2 separate regions of the Homo sapiens genome follow, and region 2 is linked to region 1. Evidence: promoter capture Hi-C in human tissues and cell types (Jung and others, 2019). All regions are on one chromosome and are shown on one strand. Each heading gives the region's core, a stretch centred on a gene start or on the middle of the fragment in contact. The rest is flanking DNA. Distances are from core to core; before and after follow the strand shown. Region 1 holds the start of STAP2 (signal transducing adaptor family member 2). Region 2 holds the start of TNFAIP8L1 (TNF alpha induced protein 8 like 1).

Region 1 (7,424 bases), core at 2,844-5,343:
CTACATCACCCACCATCCATCCAGTCATCCATCCACCCACACATCCATCTGTCCACCCATCCATCCATCCCTCCATCATCCATCCACTCATCCATCCACCCACTCATCCATCCATCCACTCATCTATCAATGCATCCCTCCATCCATCCACCTACTCATCCATCCATCCACCCATCCATCCATCCCTCCATAATCCATCCATCCATCCACTCACCGTCCATCATCCATCCACCCACTCATCCATCCACCCACTCATCCATCCACCCACTCATCAATCCATCCACCCATCCATCCACCTATCCATCCATCCCTCCATCATCCACCCACCATCTATCATCCATCCACCCACTCATCCATCCACCCACTCATCCATCCATCCATCCATACATCCATCCACTCATCTATCAATGCATCCCTCCATCATCCATCCACCTACTCATCCATCCATCCCTCATCCATCCATCATCCATCCATCCACTCATCCCTCCATCATCCATCCACCTACTCATCCATCCATCATCCATCCATGCATTCATCCATTCACCATCCACCCACCCACGCATCTTCCCGTTCATCCATCCATACATCCCTCCATCGTGCATCCACCTATTCATCCATCTATCATTCATCCATGCACTTGTTCATCCATCCATCATCCACCCACCCACCCGTCTGCCCACTCATCCATCCATCCACTCCCCCATCCATCCATCCACCCACTTGTATATGCACTCATCCATCCACCCACACATCCTCTCAGCCACCATCAAGCCCGCATGTATTCACCAAGCCTCCACTCATCCCCCCATCTACCCATCCACCTGTCCATCCGTAGACACAAGCACAGATACACACATGCATTTACCTAACATTTACTGAAGGCTTTTTATGTGCCAGCCCTGCTCCAGGCACTGGGACTAGAGCAATACAGGATTAAACACTGTATTGCTTCATTATGTACCCACGATGTGCTGTTGGGCAAGTTATTTGAGCTGTCTTTGTCTGTTTCCCCAGCTGTAAAATGGTGATAATAATGGTGCCAACTCTGGAGGATCTCATGAGAATTAGGTGACTTTCCACATGGGAAGCACCAGGGCCTGCGTTGAGTCAAGTCCTCAACACGTGAACTGTGACTACAGCCCTAACTCCCTATTTCAGAAGACAGAAAACTAAGGCTCAAAGATTAAGTCACTTGCATAAGGCCTGGGAGTAAGGAAAGTGTGGAGCCGGGATTAGAACCTGGGTCTTCTTAATTCGGGCCCATGATCTTTTTTGTTTTGTTTTGTTTTGTTTTTAAGAGACAGAGTCTTGCTCTGTCGCCCAGGCTGGAGTGCAGTGGTGCGATCTCGGCTCACTGCAACCTCCACCTCCCAGTTCGAGCCATTCTCCTGCCTCAGCTTCTCAAGTAGCTGGGATTACAAGTGCGCACCACCACATCCAGCTAATTTTTGTATTTTTTAGTAGAGGTGGGGTTTCACTATATGTTGGCCAGGGTGTTCTCGAACTCCTGACCTCAAGTGATCCGCCGGCCTCGCCCTCCCAAAGTGTTGGGATTACAGGCGTGAGCCACTGCACACTGCCTTTTTTTTTTTTTTTTTTTTTTGAGACAGAGTCTCACTCTGTCACCTAGGCTGAAATGCGGTGGCACCATCTCAGCTCACTGCAACCCCCCCGCCCCAGTTCAAGCAATTCTCCTGCCTCAGCCTCCCGAGTAGCTGGGATTACAGGTGCACACCACCACGCCCAGCTATTTTTATTTTTAGTAGAGATGGGGTTTCATCATGTGGCCAGGCTGGTCTTGAACTCCTGACCTCAAGTGATCCTCCCACCTCGGCCTCCCAAAGTGTTGGGTTACAGGCGTGAGCCACCACGCCCGGCCCCCATTATCTTTCTTTTCTTTTTTTTTTCTTTTTGTTTTTGAGAGCAGTCTCGCTCTTGTCCCCCAGGTTTGAGTGCAATGGCTTGATCTTGACTCACTGCAAACTTCGCCTCTCAGGCTCAAATGATTCTCCTGCCTCTGCCTCCCAAGTAGCTGGGATTAAGGCGCCTGGCACCATACCCAGCTAATTTTTGTATTTTTTAGTAGAGACGAGGTTTCACCATATTGGCCAGGTTGGTCTTGAACTCCTGACCTCAGGTGATCCGCCTGCCTCGGCCTCCCAAAGTGCTGGGATTACAGGCGTGAGCCACAAGCCCGGCCTCCCCCATTATCTTTCTTAACTGCAGTGATCTACTGGCTCTAAAGGGTTTGTTGGTTGGGGAGGATTTGGATGTATGGAGGTAGAAGGAAAGTCTACTCCACTACAGGTAAGGGAACCTCAGGGGCAGAGGCGGGGACATGGGCAGGGAGGAGCTGGGGGTGTTTGTTTTGATCTGTATTAGAAAATGAGGCAGTCATGGTGGCTCACACCTCTAATCCCAGCAGTTTGGGAGGCTGAGACAGGAGGATCACTTAAGGCCAGGAGTTTGAGACCAGCCTGGGCAACATAGCAAGACCCCATCTTTTTTTTTTTTTTGAGACGGAGTCTTGCTCTGTTGCCCAGGCTGGAGTGCAGTGGCACGATCTTGGCTCACTGCAACCTCTGCCTCCCAGGTTCAAGTGATTCTCCTGCCTCAGCCTCCAGAGTAGCTGGGATCACAGGCACGCACCACCACGCCCGGCTAATCTTTGTATTTTTAGTAGAGACGGGGTTTCACCATATTGGCCAGGCTGGTCTCAAACTCCTGACTTCAGGTGATCCACCTGCCTCAGCCTCCCTAAGTGCTGGGATTACAGGTGTGACCCACTGCGCCTGGCCAGCAAGACCCCATCTTCAAAAAAAAAAAAAAAAGGCTGGGTGCGGTGGCTCATGCCTGTAATCCCAGCATTTAGAGAGGCCGAGACAGGTGGATCACCTGAGGTCAAGAGTTCAAGACCAGCCGGGCCAACAAAATGAAACACTGTCTTTACTAAAAATACAAAAATTAGGTGTGGTGGTGCGTACCTGTAATCCCAGCTACTCGGGAGGCTGAGGCACGAGAATCGCTTAATCGTTTGAACCTGGGAGGTGGAGGTTGCAGTGAGCCGAGATGGTGCCACTGCACTGCAGCCTGGGTGACAGAGTGAGACTCAGTCTCAAAAATAAATAAATAAAATAAAAGCCAGAAGAGGCAGTGCATGCCTGTGGTCCCAGCTACTCAGGAGGCTGGGGCGGGAGGTTCACTTGAGCCCAGGAGTTTGAGGCTACAGTGAGCCATGATCGTGCCCCTGCACTCTAGCCTGGGTGACAGAGCAACTCTGTCTCTAACAAAAAGAAAGAAAGAAAATGAATATGCGGCATTGGGAAGGAGAGATAGGGCCTCACGGGGAACGGAGGGGCTGGGACTTTATTCTGAGGGAGACATAAGCACACACACACACACACATGCACGCACTGTCCATGGCAACTATCTGTCCTGTGGAATGTGGCCCCCGCTAGCTCTTACTGTCCTCACATGTCACCTGTCCTGGCCTTCGCCCCAGCAGCTGAGGTTCACGGAGTTTTTCCTGGGCTGGGAGCGGGAGGAAGCTCGGGAGTCAGAGGACTCCCCATTTCCTGGAGGAAGTCCCTGATCTTGTTTGTATTCAAGAGAGTGAACGAGAGACAAAAGCAAAGATTGAGACAAAGAGAGAGGGAGACTGAGACAGACATCGGGAGAGACAGACGGGGCCAGGGAGAGAGAAAGAGAAAAAGAAACCAAATTCAAAGACACACGGAGACAGAGATAGACGCACAGAGAGGCAGATGGCCAGAACCCACCCCAGTCCCCCAGCACGTGTCCTGCCCCATCCAGCACCCACCCCGCCCCCCCTTGGCGAGTGGGGAGACAGGGACTCAGAGAGGTGCCGCAGCTCCCCACGGTGGCCCAGCAGGGCCAGCCCCCGCCTCCCCACCTTACCCGGTCACAGGGCCCCTTCTTCTCTAGAAAGCTCTCATAGTAGTGTGAAGGCAGGACACCCTTAGGCTTGGGGACACGGGGTGGCCTCAGGGCAGAGGCCATGACGGAGCCAGGGTCTTCCGCCTGGCCTCTCCTTCCAGTGGGTGCCCCAGCTGGGCCGGGAAGCTGAGAAACAGGTTTCAGGGGAGTTTCCTGTGTCAGCCCGTCAACTCCCTCCCCTGCCAGGGCTGGGCAGAGGCTGATCCCAGCAGGTCCAGTGATCCTAGGGAAATCCCCGCCTCTCCGGTGTGGAACTGAGAACAGAGAGAATGTATAAGTCTACTTGAATGGGAGAATAATCTTCGCTATATCTGCAAAGACAGAGACATGGTCTGTCTCTTTATTTATTTATTTATCTATTTTTCCTATTTTGAGACAGAGTTTCACTCTGTTGCCCAGGCTGGAGTAAAGTGGTATGATCTTGGCTCACTGCGACCTCTGCCTCCCGGGTTCAAGAGACTGCGCTGCCTCCCGGGTTCAGAGACTGAGTCCAAGCTCAGTCTCCTGACTAGCGTGGATTGCAGGTGACCGCCACCACGCCTGGCTAATTTTTGTATTTGTAGTAGAGACGAGGTTTCCCCATGTTGGCCCAGGCTGGTCTCGAACTCCTGACCCCAAGTTTTCTGCCCGCCTCAGCCTCCCAAAGTGCTGAGATTACAGGCATGAGCCACCACACCTGGCCCTTTCTCTTACTTTGATGGACCCTAATGATTACATTGGGCCCACCTGGATAATCCACGCTACTCTCCCTATTTTAAAGTCAGCTGACTAGCAACTTTAATTTCATCTGCAATTTTTCTTTTTTAGACGGTGTCTCATTCTGTTGTCGATGCTGGAGTGCAGTGGCACGATCATAGTTCACTGCAGCCCTGACCTCCCAATCTCAAGCGGTCCTCCTGCCTCAGCCACCCGAAGAGCTGGGACTATAGGTGGGCACCACCACACCCAGCTAATTTATTTTCCTTTTTTAAGGATGAGTTCTCACTATGTTGCCTAGGCTGGAGTACAGTGGGGCGATCATGACTCACTGTAGCCTCGACCTTACAGGCTCAAGTGATCCTCCAGCCTCAGCCTCCAGAGTAGGTGGTACTACAGTTGCATGCCACCACACCTGGCTAATTTTTTTTTTTCTTTTTTTTGAGACAGACTCTCGCTCTGTAGCCCAGGCTGGAGTGCAGTGGCGTGATCTCGGCTCACTGCAAGCTCCGCCTCCCAGGTTCATGCCATTCGCCTGGCTCAGCCTCCCAAGTAGCTGGGATTACAGGTGCCTGCCACCACGCCCAGCTAATTTTTACACTTACTAGAGACAGGTTCTTGCTATGTTGCCCAGGCTGGTCTTTTTTTTTTTTTTTTTTTGAGACAGAGTCTTACTCTGTCACCCAGGCTGGAGTGCAGTGGAGCGATCTCGGCTTACTGCAACCTCTGCCTCCCAGGTTCAAGCAATTCTCCTGCCTCAGCCTCCCGAGTAGCTGGGATTATAGGCACGTGCCACCATGCCCAGCTAATTTGTTTGTATTTTTATTTTAGTAGAGATGGAGTTTCACTGTGTTAGCCAGGATGGTCTTAATCTCCTGACCTTGTGATCCACCTGCCTCGACCTCCCAAAGTGCTGGGATTACAGGCATAAGCCACCGTGCCCGGCCCTCAGGCTAGTCTTGAACTCCTGGGTGCAAGTGATCCTCCAGTCTAGGCCTCCCAAAGTGCTGGGGTTACAGGTGTGTGCCACTGTGCCTGGCGTCTATCTTTAATCTTCAAATCCCTTTGCCACGTATCCTAACGTATTCACAGATTCTGGGAATTAGGGCGTGGATATCTTTAAGAGACCATTATTCTGCCTACCACAGCCTGTTTAATATGGTGGACAATTGATTAATTTTGAATACTGAATCAGTCTTGGGTCCCTGGAGTAAACCCCACTTGTCATGGTGTATAATTCACTTTATATATTGTTAAATTCTACTTTGTAATATTTTGTTAAGGATTTTTGCACGTCTTCATGAGGGATATGGGGTGTAGCTTGCTTTCTTTGTACCGTCTTTATCTGGTTTTGGTATCAGGGTCATAGTTCCATAAAATGAACAGGGAAGTGTCCCCTTCAATTTTCTGGAAGAGATGATGTGAAATTGGTGTTAATTCTTCTTTGAACCTTTGGCAGAATTCCTTAGTGAAACCATCTGGGTCTGGAGATTGCTTTTTTGGGAGTTTTTAAATTACAAATTCAATTTCCTTAGTAGTTACCAGGGCTAGACTTTGTATACATAGCAGAACAGGTGTTCTAGAAATCACAGAAAGGCCGTGGGACTGTGGCAATGTGTTCATCCACTGAACTGTCTGATAAAGTTGATAGTATCAGCTATACTAAGTAAGGTCAGAGAGTTGATTTTTGTTTCGTTTTTTTGTTTGTTTGTTTTTTCAGACAGGGTTTTGCTCCTTTTGCCCAGGCTGGAGTGCAGTGGCATGATTTCGGCTCACTGCAACCTCCGCCTCCCGGGTTCAAGCGATTTTCCTGCCTCAGCCTCTGGAGTAGCTGGGATTACAGGTGCCTGCCACCACCCCCGGCTAATTTTTTTGTTTTTATTAGAGATGGGGTTTCACCATGTTGGTCAGGCTGGTCTTCAGCTTCTGACCTCAAGTGATCCCAAAGTGCTGGGATTACAGGCGTGAGCCACTGTGCCCAGCCAGGGTGGTTAGTTTTTATTGTATTTGTCTAAGGCAATGTGGAGCGACAGAAGGATTTACAGCATGAGAGGAGGGCAGGGTGCGGTGGCTCACGCCTGTAATCCAAACACTTTGGGAGCCCAAGTGGGAAGATTGCTTAAGGCCAGGACTTGGAGACCAGCATGGGCAACATAGTGAGATCCCCTTCTTTTACAAGAAAATTAAAAATTAGCCAGGCATGCTGGTCACGCCTGTTGTCTCAGCTACTCTGGAGGCTGAGGCAAGAGGATCATTTGAGTCCAGGAGGCCAAGGCTGCAGTGAGCCATGATTACACCAATGCACTCCAGCCTGGGAGATAGAGCAAGGCCCTGTCTCGAAAAGAAAAGAAAATAGGCTGGGCGCAGTGGCTCACACCTGTAATCCCAGCACTTTGGGAGGCTGAGGCAGGTGGATCACCTGAGGTTGGGAGTTCGAGACCAGCCTGGCAAACATGGTGAAACCCCTTCTCTACTAAAAATACAAAAATTAGCTGGGTGTGGTGATGTGCATCTGCAGTCCCAGCTAATTGGGAGGCTGAGGCAGGAGAATCGCTTGAACCTGGTAGGCAGAGGTTGTAGCGAGCCAAGATCTTGCCACTACACTCCGGCCTGGGTGACAGAGCGAGACTCCGTCTCAAAAAAAAAAAAAAAAAAAAAAAAAAAAAAAGAAAAAAGAAAAGAAAAGAAAACAAAATAATAATATGGGAGGGAGGTGGTAATAGGTGCATTTTAGAAAGAGCCCTCTGGGGCAATGGTGGAAGACCGACAGG
Region 2 (7,424 bases), core at 3,418-5,917, 300 kb after region 1:
TAGTCCTTTGTCAACGCTGGTTGAACATGAGGGGATAAATACCCTAGCTTTTCTGATCTCTGGGTGCGGCGATTCTCAGCTGTTTTCTTTCTTTTTCCTTTTCTTTTTCTTTTTTTTTTTTTTCAGACAGAGTCTTGCTTTGTCACCCAGACTGGAGTCCTGTGGCACAATCTCGGCTCACTGCAACCTCCCAGGTTCAACCTCCCAGGTTCAGATGATTCTCCTGCCTTAGCCTCCTAAGTAGCTGAAACCACAGGCCCTCACCACCACGCCTGGCTAATTTTTGTATTTTCTGTAGAGGTGGGGTTTCACCATGTTGGCCAGGCTGGTCTCGAACTGACCTCAAGTGATTTGCCCGCCTTGGCCTCCCAAAGTCCTGGGATTACAGGCGTGAGCCACCGCGCCCGGCTGCCGGTGTCTTATTGAGGCCATCAGACAATGCAAGAGTGCTGAGTCCCAGCACCCTGTCCTTGCAGTTTTACAAATCTCTGAATCTGCTACGATCACTGCATCCATCTTCCAGATGCAGTCACTGAGGTTCCAAAAAGTGAAGTTTCCTTTCCTGCCCGGGATGACTAAGGACGCTCTATCCCCAGGGGCAGCAGAAGATCGGGCTGCCCTCTCCCCAAACACACCCACCCACCCACCCACAGGGGCACACACGGGCACACACGCACCGTCTACCTCCCCAGACACCCGGCTGACACAGGCTGGCGTCTGCACGGCTGACACTTGTAAATCCACCCTCCTTCGGGGGCAGGCTGGCTCCTTCTCTGGCAGCAGGAAGATAGAGGGAGTTGGTTTAGTGGTTGGGGGGAAAGGAGTGCGCCCCTGACCCCATGCCCAGCCCCCGACCCCAGGGAGGGTGACAGCCCCTCCCTCTCTTCCAGTGACCTTGGGAAAGTTCCAGGAGGCCCCCGGGCCTGGACTTTGAGAGGTGAGCGCTCCAGCAAGATTCGCTCCCCTCCTTCTGTCCCTGCTCTGGGCCCGCCCACCCACTCCCTTTCTCAAGCGGCCTTGGAAAGGGTCTTGCAGAGACAGACAGATGGCCTGGGGACAGATGGCGGACGTGTAGGAGTTACCACTGGGAGAGGGGTAAGGGGGAGGGGAGTGCGTTCTGGCCCCCAAGACGAGTCCCACAGGCTCCTGCAGAACAGAATAAGCCGCCTCCTTCAAGCCCCTCAACTGGGATATCATCGTCCCCCCGCAACCAGGATCCCATCACCCCATAAACGGAATCCCATCCCCCATCCCAACCAGGGTCTCATCATCCCCGCAAACGGAGTCCCATCGACCCCACATTCAAGGTTCCATAGCTCCCCCAAACGGGATCCCATGGCACTGGGCCGGGGCAGAGGCCCGGAGAAGAGGGTCGCTAGCTGCAGGTTGCACAGCCCGGCAGGGTGCGAGGCCTGGCCTGGGGGTGCGGGTGACTCTGGTGGGTCTAGGCTCCGCGGGGAGACTTGGGCCTGGAGACCCCGCCCCGCACGCAGATCCCGCCCGCCCCGGCCGCGGGTTCCGGGGAAGCGAAGGCGCCGCCAGCCCGGGCTGTGGGCAGAGCGCGCCCTCTGCCGGGCATGATCGGAAACGGCGCGGCGGCGACTCCCGGACCCTCGGGACTCCGGACCCGACTCCCACCCGGCTGAGCTTTACCGGGTTATAGAGCCCCCAACTCTGGATCGATCCCCGACCTCCTAAGGAACCGCGACACTGGGCTGAGCTCCCGCCTTGGGCTAAACCTCAATCCCAGTAGAGCTGGGACCTGGGCTGAGACCCCAACTTTGGATAGAGCCTCTGATCTGTCTTTGAGCCCTGGTCCTGAGCCAAGCCTCAAACTCCAATAGAGTCTCCATCGACCTGAGCTCCCAACTCAGGGCTGAGCCCCCCTCTAGGCTGAGGTCTGATACGGAATAGAGCCTGCGACCCCTTCTAAATCCCGACTCTGGGCTGAGCCTGGACCCTCGATAGAGTCTCCAACTCTAGGCTGAACCCTAACCCTGGGCTGCACCCTTACTGTAGACAGAGCCCAATCCCAGCAGAGGCCCTATTCTCACTAAGCCCCATCACCCAGTAAGCCTGCATTCCCGGCCAAGATCATCCCTCCCCCACCCCTAACACCCACTGAACCCTAGCCCTCCCGAGTCCCAACCTTCTTATCTGATACAGAAAAGAGACCAGGTGTGGTGGTTCTTGCCTGTAATCCCAGCGCTTTGGGAGGCAGAAGCAGGAGGATCGCTTGAGGCTAGGAGTTCGAGACCAGCCTGGGCAACATAGTGAGACACCCCCTATCTCTATTTAAAAAAATAAAAATTAGCCGAGCTTGGTGGTGCACACCTGTGATTTCAGCTACTTGGGAGGCTGAGGCAGAAGGATTGCTTGAACCCAGGAAGTTGAGACTGCAGTAAGCTGTGACTGCACCACTGCATTCCAGCCTGGGTGACAAATCGAGACCCTGTCTAAAAAAAAAGAAAGAAAGAAAAAAGGTGAAATCATGCTAGGCTCAGATGCCTCCAGTCCTCCTGCCCTGATGGGGAGACCCCCTTGATGCTGGGGTTGCGAGAGGAGCTGTACACACCACACCAAAGTCAGACCTAATCAGGTCCTAATCCCATCTCTGCCTCATCTGGCTGTGTGGCCTGGAACCTATCCCTTCCTCCCTCTGGGGTTCCATTTCGTCATCTGTGAAATGGGACAGTCACTCCTGACTCTACCACCTTGTGCCTGTGTGACCTCAGGCAAGTTACTTCCTCTCTCTGGGCCTCAGTCTCCTCCTCCAAAATGAAATAAGAAGGTGTTTTGTTTTGTTTCTTGAAACAGAGTCTCGCTCTGTCGTCCAGGCTGGAGTGCAGTGGCGCGATCTCGGCTCACTGCAACCTCTGCCTCCTGGGTTCAAGTGATTCTCGTGCCTTAGTCTCCCAAGTAGCTGGGACTACAGGCGTGCACCACCACTCCTGGCTAATTTTTTCATATTTTTGCTTTATTTTTTATTTTTTGAGATGGACTCTTGCTTTGTAGCCCAGGCTGGAGTGCAGTGCCGCGATCTCGGCTCACTGCAATCTCTGCCTCTGGGGTTCAAGCAATTCTAGCACCTCAGCCTCCCGAGTAGCTGGGACTACAGGCGTGCACCACCACGACCAGCTAATTTTTTTTTTTTGTATGTTTTATTTTTTGAGATGGAATTTTGCTCTGTCGCCCCGGCTGGAGTGCAGTGGCCCGATCTTGGCTCACTGCAACCTCTGCCTCCAGAGTTCAAGCGATTCCCCTGCCTCAGCCTCCTGAGTAGCTGGGATTACAGGCATGTGCCACCACACCCGGCTAATTTTTGTATTTTTAGTAGAGACGGGGTTCCACGATGTTGTCCAGGCTGGTCTCAAACTCCTGACCTCAGGTGATCCGCCCACCTCGGCCTCCCAAAGTGCTGGGATTACAGGGGTGAGCCACCGGGCCCAGCCAATGAGATATTTAACTTACTTTTGCCTCCTGAGGCCTGTGCCTCGGTCTTCCTGAATCCCGTGTGCAGGTCAGGACACACAACAGGCCCTCAACAATTTGTTGTCTGGCTTCCTGGAGGAAGAAGCAGCGAGGTTGCTATGGGCTCCCTAGGCCCTAGCTGCAACCGGGACCCAGAGTTGGGCTGCAGGGCGGAAATGGTGCTGCAGGGGACCTGGGAGCAGCTCCAGGGCCTGGTTCCCAGGACTCACAGCTGCATCCTCCCCGGGGGACCCCAGCTGGCGCTGCGCAGCCGGGAGGCTCCTGTGTGTCCTGCAGGCTCATTCCTACGGAAATCGAGGCTGGACCTGGGGATCCTCTGATGAGGTCTCCAGGAGCCCTCCACCTCACCCCAAAGATTCATCTATAGCCCCACAACCCTGGGTTAGATTCATCCCTTCTTGTGGCACAGAACTCTGTATTTTTAAAATTTTAACTTATTTTGATCTTCTTCTTTTTCTTTCTTTCTTTTTTTTTTTTTTTTTGTAGAGACAGGGTCTCCCTAGGTTGCCCAGGCTGGTTTCAAACTCCTGGGCTCAAGGGATCCTCCTGCCTTGGCCTCCCAAAGTGCTGGGATTCCAGGCGTGAGGCACCACACCTAGTTGGAATCTGCATTTTAAAATGGACTCTCAGATCTTTCTGACGCGAAGGGTTCCCCGAGGCCGTACTTTGAGAAACACGCTTCTGCCGAAATTCCTATTACCCAGGCGGGTAAACTAGCCCCAGAAGGAGGAAGGGGCCCGTGCAGAACCACGTGGTTGGTCTGTTTTGCCTTTTGGCTCTCTGGTCTCTTCCTGTTGGTGTCTCTGTGCCTCCCTCCCCAGGTTCTCTGTCTGTCTCGTACTCTTATCTCTTCCCTTTTCTGTGGCCGGCACCCCCACGACGGCCTCGCCCCCGCATCCGGGCCCCTTCGCGATTCCGGAGGAATCCCCCAGAGCCGCCTGACCCCGCCCCCAGGCTCCGCCCCTTCCCCCCACTTCCCCCCCGTCGCAGTGCCCTGCTCCCATTGGCCTTTTCGTACATTGCCCGCCCTGTCATTGGCTAATCCGGAGCGCTCGGCCCGCCCCCCAGGCCTGGCAACTCTCCGGTCCCTTCCGCGCGGGCGGGGCGAGTGGAGGGCGTGGCCTGCCGAGGGGCGAGGCGAGTGGAGGGCGGGGCCGCGCTGCCCGCCCCGCCCCGGCCCCGGCCCCGGCTCCGGCGCTGCTCCCACCGCCGCGGCAACGGCCCCGGCCCACGGAGGCGGCTGGACGGACCCCCGACGGTTGGACGTACGGACTCTGCTTCGAGAGTAGGTGAGCGAGCAGTGCCGGGGCGCCCCCCATTTCAGCGCATCTCGGGGGCCACCTGGCCGCCCTCTGTCTCTCCCGCCCCTTAATGCTTCTGCACCCCACCGCCTGTCCGTCTACATTCCTGCCTCAGTTTCCGTCTGTCTCTCTGTCACTCTCGCTGTATAGGTTAGGGGGAGACAGATTGAGTCTCAATTGCCCCCCTTGGCGTGGGGCTCTGCTCTGGGACCAGCACCCCCATCCCCCATGTGGACTCTAGTGGACTCTGCCCCCTTTAACTGTAGGGCCGCAGGTGCTCAGGCCAGATTCCAGAACCCTGAGGGCATTCCAGGCGGTGGGCAGCTGGGCCAGCCGTGCGGAGGTGGGCATGACTGTAGCTTCTAGCTAAACCAGGCATCGGTCCAGGCATCGGTGGCGGGGAGCCAGGCCTAGGCCAGCCCGGGCCCACCCAGACTGGCCCCTAATGAGCTCCCAAGTGGCCTGTGGGGACTTGGCCTCAGTTTTGCCAGCTGTGAACTGGGACCGTCGCTGCTAAGGTAATTGGCAGGTGATCTGAAGGACACCTGCCGCCTCCTGGCCTTTTCTGTGAAGTCGAACTAGGCCCATTTCCTGGGATGGGAAACTAAGGCCTAGAAAGAGGCCAATGCTTCCAATGTTTGTCCAGGGAAGTGGGGACAGAGGCAGGACAGAATCTGTTTTCTCTGCATCCTCACATTTCCCAGCACCTTCTCTATGGAGGGGGGAAGGGCTGGTGGAGGAGCAGCCCCAGGTGTAAACAGGCCGCCAGAGTTTATTTCCTGAGCCAGTCCCAGCTCAGCTGGAGGCGATGAACGCCTTGGGAGGCCCCAGGGGGGCCAGCCCAGTGGTGGCGGAGCTTGGACCAATCTAGGTTTGAGCTCTGCCACCCGCATGATATCTTGAACCAGTTTTTCAATTCTGCGGAGCCTCAGTTTCCTCATCTGTAAAACAGGAGTGGGTCGTAACTCCCCAAGTTGAGGGCTGCTGGGGGATCAGATGCAGGAATACAGGCCCTGCTCATAACCTGCCTGACTCTCGCTGTGGCTCTGCCCCAGTCACACTGGCCTCCTCCTGTTTCTCCAACACCCCAGGCGAGGTCCTCTCTCAGGGCCTTTGCATGGGCTGTGCCCTCTGCCACTACGGCAGGTCCGAGGGCGCCAACTTTGAAACATAACAAGCTCCCTGGATGGGCCGGACCCAGGACCTGCACAGGCAAGGGCTGGGAGGGGCAGAGGAGGGGCCGCTCAGGGACGCTGTACCTATGGAAACCGTGAACAAAGGGCTGTCTCCAGCCACACAAACACCTGGGTGAATCGGGCACTGGCCAGAGGCTGGAGCAGCCTGGGATACAGGTGGTGGGTGAGTGCCTGGACCCCTGCAGGGAATATGGGGCCGGGGGGGGGACTTGAACCCTGCTCCAATGGTGGGGTGGCTCTGCAGACGGGTGCAGGTCTGAGGCCCCGCGGTACGGCCCCTCCCACTGTGTGGCCTTGGACCGACGGTCAGGTGCCCCCAGAGCCTCAGTTTCCTCATCCCCGTTCCCCCAGGGGTCAGCCCAGGTGGGTGAGGGGTCTTTTGATTGCTTGACAATTCAGTATGGTGGGTTCCGGAGGCCTCAGTGTCCCTGTCTGTCCAATGGGGCCACGAAAGGGTGCCTTGAGGACAAAACTCCAGCCGTTGACAGGGGAACACTCCTCCCAGAGAGACGTCAACGCTAAAAAATGACTCACACTTGCCCAGGTACAGCTCAGGTGTTACAGACGGGGAGCAGGGCAAGGAGGCAGAGCGAGAGGCAGGAACGGCCCAGTTCCACAGCATGCCTGCCCCTTCCCAGCATCTCCCGACACCCCTCAGCAGATGACCTCCCTGGAATCACACCCGCTCGAGCTTTGACGCAGGGACCTCTGGCAGAGTTCTTGGGATCTTGTAAATCCCCAGCTTCTAGGCCTCAGTTTCCCCATCTGTCCAATGGGGCTGGTCATCTCCTTTTTCTTGTGGGGCTGAGATAACTGTGGGGAGGGAGGGTGCTTTGAGGGGTGGGGGAGATTCAACAAGATATTGTTAAAAGCCCGAGGAGGGGATTACAGGACACAGTACTTCTAGAAGCTTCCTAAGGCTTCGATCCTTCCCCTCTGGGGTGGGCTCTGGGAGAGACGAGACTTGAACCCCAAATGTGCCATTGACTAGGATGAGGAAAGGATTGCACTAGGTTAAAGGCTGGGTTCAAATTCTGATTCTGCCACATCACTGCTTTATAAACAGGCAAGCTCCTGACCCTCTGTGACTCAGTTTCCTTATAACCAAAAACTTGCAGGTCCATCTAGAGAATTTCCCAGCCTGGGCAACATGGTGAAACCCTGTCTCTACTTAAAACAAAGAAAAAAAAATTAGCCAGGTGTGGTGTCGCAGGCCTGTAGTCCCAGCCACTCTGGAGGCTGAGGTGGGAGGATCACCTGAGCCCAGGGAGGTTGAGGCTGCAGTGAGCCGAGCTCATGCCACTGCACTTCAGCCTGGGCGACAGGAGTGAAACCCTGTCTCAAAGAAAAAGAAGAGAATTGGCTGGGCGCCGTGGCTCACGCCTGTAATCCCAGCACTTTGGGAGGCTGAGGTGGCCGGATCACCTGAGGTCAG

The links. The method cuts DNA at HindIII sites, captures the fragments that hold promoters and counts their contacts. A contact is called where the count stands out against the background at its distance.
Region 2: the fragment with the promoter of TNFAIP8L1 here is called in contact with the fragment with the promoter of STAP2 in region 1 in 1 of the 25 tissues and cell types used here (spleen).

The regions. Positions count from the first base shown.
Region 1 is chr19:4,334,734-4,342,157 of GRCh38, forward strand. It overlaps STAP2 (signal transducing adaptor family member 2), which reads right to left and starts at 4,094. Exons shown (of 13, transcript NM_001013841.2): 1 at 3,919-4,094. The coding sequence starts at 4,020. The HindIII fragment of the contact is 19,957 bases long and covers 1-7,424 here.
Region 2 is chr19:4,634,849-4,642,272 of GRCh38, forward strand. TNFAIP8L1 (TNF alpha induced protein 8 like 1) reads left to right here and starts at 4,668. Exons shown (of 2, transcript NM_152362.3): 1 at 4,668-4,781. RefSeq lists silencers at 1,420-1,599, 4,189-4,268, 4,329-4,768 and an enhancer at 4,669-5,668. The HindIII fragment of the contact is 40,660 bases long and covers 1-7,424 here.